2 separate regions of the Homo sapiens genome follow, and region 1 is linked to region 2. The links are contacts of gene promoters, found by promoter capture Hi-C in blood cells and fetal thymus (Javierre and others, 2016). All regions are on one chromosome and are shown on one strand. Each heading gives the region's core, a stretch centred on a gene start or on the middle of the fragment in contact. The rest is flanking DNA. Distances are from core to core; before and after follow the strand shown. Region 1 overlaps ENPP2 (ectonucleotide pyrophosphatase/phosphodiesterase 2). Region 2 holds the start of MED30 (mediator complex subunit 30).

The links. Contacts are between HindIII fragments. The CHiCAGO score rates a contact against its expected background, and 5 or more counts as called.
Region 1: a fragment that was not itself captured here is called in contact with the fragment with the promoter of MED30 in region 2 in 1 of 17 cell types (naive CD4 T cells); the score reaches 5.1 in naive CD4 T cells.

Annotation. Positions count from the first base shown.
Region 1 is chr8:119,634,510-119,637,209 of GRCh38, reverse strand. All of the region lies in intron 2 of ENPP2 (ectonucleotide pyrophosphatase/phosphodiesterase 2), which reads left to right. Among named protein-coding and RNA genes, the nearest start is that of ENPP2, 3.0 kb to the left of the region's middle. The HindIII fragment of the contact is 1,251 bases long and covers 754-2,004 here.
Region 2 is chr8:117,519,439-117,522,138 of GRCh38, reverse strand. MED30 (mediator complex subunit 30) reads right to left here and starts at 1,426. Exons shown (of 4, transcript NM_080651.4): 1 at 1,086-1,426. The coding sequence starts at 1,262. LOC105375716 (a long non-coding RNA gene) reads left to right here and starts at 1,419. Exons shown (of 7, transcript XR_928569.3): 1 at 1,419-1,585. The HindIII fragment of the contact is 1,953 bases long and covers 1-1,784 here.

The sequences.
Region 1 (2,700 bases), core at 130-2,629, 2.1 Mb before region 2:
GCTCTCTTCAAAGGCCTCTTTTTCACTCCCATTAACACTGACTGTGACTGAACAGACAGGGGAATCAGATCCTTAGCATGGTCATGTGGGAAAGCTAGCAACTTGAGAGCCAACTGCTGGTTCTTTTCAATGAACACTAAAGGGAACTTTTTTTTTCTGTTTCCTCTTAATATATTACTCTGGCTAAAACTGAGATTGAAAGAATTAAATGCTGTTTCCTTAATGAATGTAAAATTGAGTCACTCATTATTTTTAAAGGTGACTTCTTTTGGAAAACAGTCATTAAAATCCTAGGCTGGTACCCTGGAGTCCTGTAACTTGCTGTGTGGTGTTGGGCAAGTCACTTGTGAAGTCTGTTTCCTTAGCTGTACAATGAGGAGCAGACTTAGATGATTTCTACTTTTCTTTCTGGATTAAAAAAAAAAAATCCCAGGAATTATTCTGTTTCATTGCCTCTTGAATTTCTGTGCTCACTACTGGAAAACTTGAAAAGTATAGATTGGATTTATTAGTCTTTGAAAATATTTTGTGTATAGTAAATTATTTCCATGTTATAAGAATAGCTATATGAACTAATGAATAAATGCCACTTCTAGAAAAGTAGTATGGTCTATATTATAATTTATAAACCTAAATGGTCTTAAGTGGGCTACACGAATTTGCTCCTTGAATTATTTAATTAAGTCGTTGGTTATTTTAGGCCTTTATGATATCATCTAAAATAATTTATTAAACTTCTAACCACGTGAAGCTTAGTCTTAGAATACAATGCAACCTAACTCTGAATTTTATGGTTTGGATATGCCTGAATAATTTTTCTTTTGATGTAGCTTATGTGCTTTTTAGGAACTGTGGTTGATTTCTCCTGAATAAAAATCAAGGATGTACTTAGTAAACTAGGTAAAAGCATCCTGTAGACAGTGGAAATATCTTTATGCGTTTAAATGCTGCATATGCTTAGAAAGGATCTCTCTCGATTGACACATGTGACTGGTTATTCTGACCATTAGAAAAGCCTTCCCATCAGAAAATACTGGGTGAATTTTATAAGCCTGTAAGAATAAGACACTAGGTGGGGAGGAGGCAGCCATGCCTATTTCCAACAACATTTTTAGGCGCCAAAGAAATCCTGGGAAGCTCAGTGCTCCAAGGGTGCAACAAATAGAAGGAACACAAAGGGTATTGATATATGGCTAGCTTCGGATTGATCAGAGTGAGATCCACCATTCAAAAGCATGCAGTTGTTTAGTAACCATAGCTTCTCAGAGTCCTCAACAATAGCTGAGAATGTTCTGTACACATGGATGCCCTCGCTGCTGTACTATGGACTGGGGTGTTAGTTTCAAGGTTGTGGCAGTGCAAACAGACTGTCATAATTAATTAACTAACACACTTGTTACCTGGATTTATTGTTAGCGTAGGAAATAATGGCTGAACAGGATTTTTTATACCAGGTCATAAAAGATTTATAGATTTATTAGGAGATATGAAATGAGAAAAGCTACTTATAATTCTGTTGGGTAAATACAATGGGCATTCAGGTTAATGAGACGGTGAGATGGGTGGAATAAATTTTCTAAGAAAATATAAGCCATAACTGTGATTTAGTTTGACATCTTTTTCTCATATGTCTGATGTGGCCCACTTGATTTGCCTTTAAGACTGCAAGAGACTTTATATGTCTACAGGTGTCTGTGCACTCATGTGCACTTGCAGTGTGTATGTTTGTGGTGTTATGCAGGAGTCTATTTTATTGAAACTTGTGATTTAGAAACTGTCTCCAGGTGGAAATAGAATATCCTCTTTGATATGTAAGTAATTTAATTCTTAAAAGACAAAAGGAAATTTGTGAGCTTGTGAATAGCTGGCTAACAGAGACTTAAAAGCTCAGTTTAATTCATCATTGTTTTTAGTGGCTTGAAAGGAAAGTTGAAAAGTATGTGAATGAAATTCATAGGTTCATATGAAATGTAGACTGTCACTAACAACTTTATGGATAAAGCTTTTCTTTGAGAATCATAGGGAAATCAGAAAATGGAACTAGAAGTGAGAAGGTTTATGTTCATTTGATAATTTTAGAAATTTTGCTCTGCAATGAAAAGCTATTTAAATGTTGGCATGGGAGAATGCAGGAAACTGTAAAGGGGACGTAGATCAGCCATTTGCTCTGTGAGCAAAACTCGGTCATTAGGATTATCCTGTCATGGGGCTTTATGTGAAATTTCAGGTAGAAATTGGGGAGTTTGAGTCAATGGAATGAAATTATCTGAACTGGAAGCTAAGGAGGGTACAGATTTTTCAGTTCTTTGTTAAATGGGGCTGTAGTGTAGTGATTTTTCATCTATCTGAAAACTGTAGAGACTCCTCTATCTAGTTTACATACTCAGAAATCTCAGTCTTCCATGAACTTCAGCCTAGATTTTTGAATCAATAAAATCAGCAAATCTTCCCCAAAATTATATTTTGAAAAGAACTTCTAAAATTTGAAAACTATGTACAAAAGTTTGAAAAACCTTTCATTAATGAAAAAAATACTGTAGTTACAGTGAGATGATCTAAAATTTTATCCAGGCCTTGGCTAACTCATACAAGGCCTAGAGATCTAATTTTCCAACCAGGAAAATGGGGATAAAGTCGCTTTTATTTATCTGAAAAAGTTTTTGAAAATGCCTTTAAGGCTGATGAGAACTATAAGGTGTT
Region 2 (2,700 bases), core at 177-2,676:
AAAAAGGCAGGATAGACTGGGAGAAGTATTTGGAAAGCATCAAGACATAACAGGTGTTGATGAGGATGAGGAGAAACTAGAACCCTCAAACAGCAATGTTTACATTCCCACTAGCAATAATCGGGACGTAAAATGGCTCAGGCCACTTTGGAAAAGTTTCTTAAAGTATTAAACAGACATGTACTGCATGATCCAGCAATTCCACTCCTGAATCTGTCCAAGAGAAATGACACATACGTTCACACAAAAATTTGTCAGCAAAAGTTCATAGCAGCATTATTTACAACAGCCAAAAAGTGGAAACAACCCAAATGTCCATCAACAGAAGAAAAGGTAGGCAAATGGTGATACATGGATACAATGGAACATTACTCAGCAATAAAAAGGAAATTATTGATGCATTCTTAGTGAAGGATCTCAGACAAAAAAAAAAGCCCACATACTGTAGACTCCGTTTATATAAAACCCTAGCAAATGCAAATTAATTTATGATTACAGAACGCAGATCAATGGTTGCTTAGCGATGGAAGGTGGGAAGCAAAGATGTCAGAGGGGTATGAAGAAACTTTCTGGGATGATGTGTACACTATTTTGATTGTGGTGATAATTTCACAAGTATACAGACTACAGTACACATATATATCAAAACTTTAGGTGAGTGTAGTTTACTGTATATTAACTATGCCAAAAAAAGGAGGACTGTTTTTTTAAAAAAAATGTAAATTCTTCAACTCCTTGGACCTCCCCAGAAGAAATGCTGGAAAAAACATTTAAAGCAACCTAAAGAGGGAAGTGGAGTGCGACCCATCTCTGCCTTGAAAGGTGCAAGAGTTTACAGAGTAACTAAAGAGCTCGATTGAATCTAAAAAAAATTGGCTTCAATTCTGCAGAAATCTGGTCTGGAAAACATCACCTCTACAAATCCGACTTTTGGGGACACTCTTGAGTGTGAATGGGGGAGACCCTACACCTAAGGTTTGCCCAGGGCAGCCCCGATGACATCCACGGGCCCCACGTAAAGAGGAAACCAGAGGCCCTTTCCCTCCCAGCTGCATCCCCCTGGCCTCGCGCGCCCGCCTTCCTACCTGCATGTTCCTCAGGAGCTGGAAGATCTCCATGGTGCGGTACACGATGTCCTGCACTGTCTCCTGCCCGATGCGGCACAGCGACGCCGTGTTGACTTCCCGGGCGGCCTGCTGAGCCTGGGGCCCGGCGAAGGGCCCGGGCGCCATCCCCGACGCGGCCAACGGAGGGGTGGACATGGCGCGGCTGCAGCTTCAGGCCGGAAGGGGCCAGACAGCAGGTGTCAGGGGTCTGCCCGGAATTGGGAGGCTGTGGGGCCTCAGCGTTGGAACCAGCTTGAGAGACCCCCCGCGGCCCGATTTCAAAACAGCGGCCGCGACTTCCGCCCACTGTGACGTAACACGTCAGAAAACGTCATAGACACCGCCCACTCGGCGAACTGTCTCCGAGCGGAGCCGGGCTGGATTGGATTGGACCCCTGGGCGGGAAAGGACGGACGGGTTAAGTAGCCAATCACCAATTGCGCTCCAGCCAGAGGGGCGATGTTCTTGGGGAGCCTGGGGTGAGTTCCCAGAGTTCGTTTCCCAGTCTTGGCTCAGCGTTAGAACCTTCTGTGTTTAGTTCCTTGCGGAGCATTTTCTCTTAACAAGCCTGAGGTTTGTAGTATAACAGCTAAGAGACAGGTTAAAGTACTTGTTGAGTCGCATACAGGTGTAACTGGCAACCTGCGATTCGAATTCAGAAAACAAGATTCCTAAGCTTGTACGCTTCTCTGTGACATGATACGGACTCCCCGATTGCTCTTGGTCCCTGCTCAGATGTTTTATTCTTTGAGTTTTCCCAGTATCTGTAAGCAAAAAAAATGATCAACACACACACTTCTTTCTGACTCTGGCTCTTATTAGTGTCTGATTTTTTTTTCTTTTTCTTTTTGAGATGGAGTCTCGCTCTGTCACCCAGGCTGGAGTGCAGTGGCGCGACCTCGGCTCACTGCAAGCTCCGCCTCCCGGGTTCACACCATTCTCCAGCCTCGGCCTCCCGAGTAGCTGGGACTACAGGCGCCCGCCACCACGCCCGACAAATTTTTTGTATTTTTAGTAGAGACGGGGTTTCACCGTGTTAGCCGGGATGGTCTCGATCTCCTGACCTCGTGATCCGCCCGCCTCGGCCTCCCAAAGTGCTGGGATTACAGGCATAAGCCACCGCGCCCGGCCTACTGTCTGATATTTTATATAGCTTTCAGTTTGTTTACTTTCAGACTTTATCTCACCCTATCTACACACACTGCCAACTCCATGAAAACAGACTATTTTATTCACTTATTCTCAACACCTAGTGATTGGCACAAGTATCAATAAATACTTATTGAATGATTGTTGAGTGACATGATAAATGCAAGAGAAATTAAAATGTCTCTCACAATGTCTCTCACTTACTGTTCATCTCCAAAGTGGGGAAAAGTGAAGAATGTAAAATTAGTGATAGGCACAAACATTGCATTTTTTAGAAGTATCTGAATGCTCCATTGTACGGACTTTCCAGGAAATAGTTACTAAATATGTCATAGGAACCCTGGTAGAGATTTTAAACATAGTAATTCGCAGGTCTTCGGTAATTACCATTCGACAAATATTGGCTGAGCACCTATTATGTGCTGGGTGCTAGGAGTGAAGATAG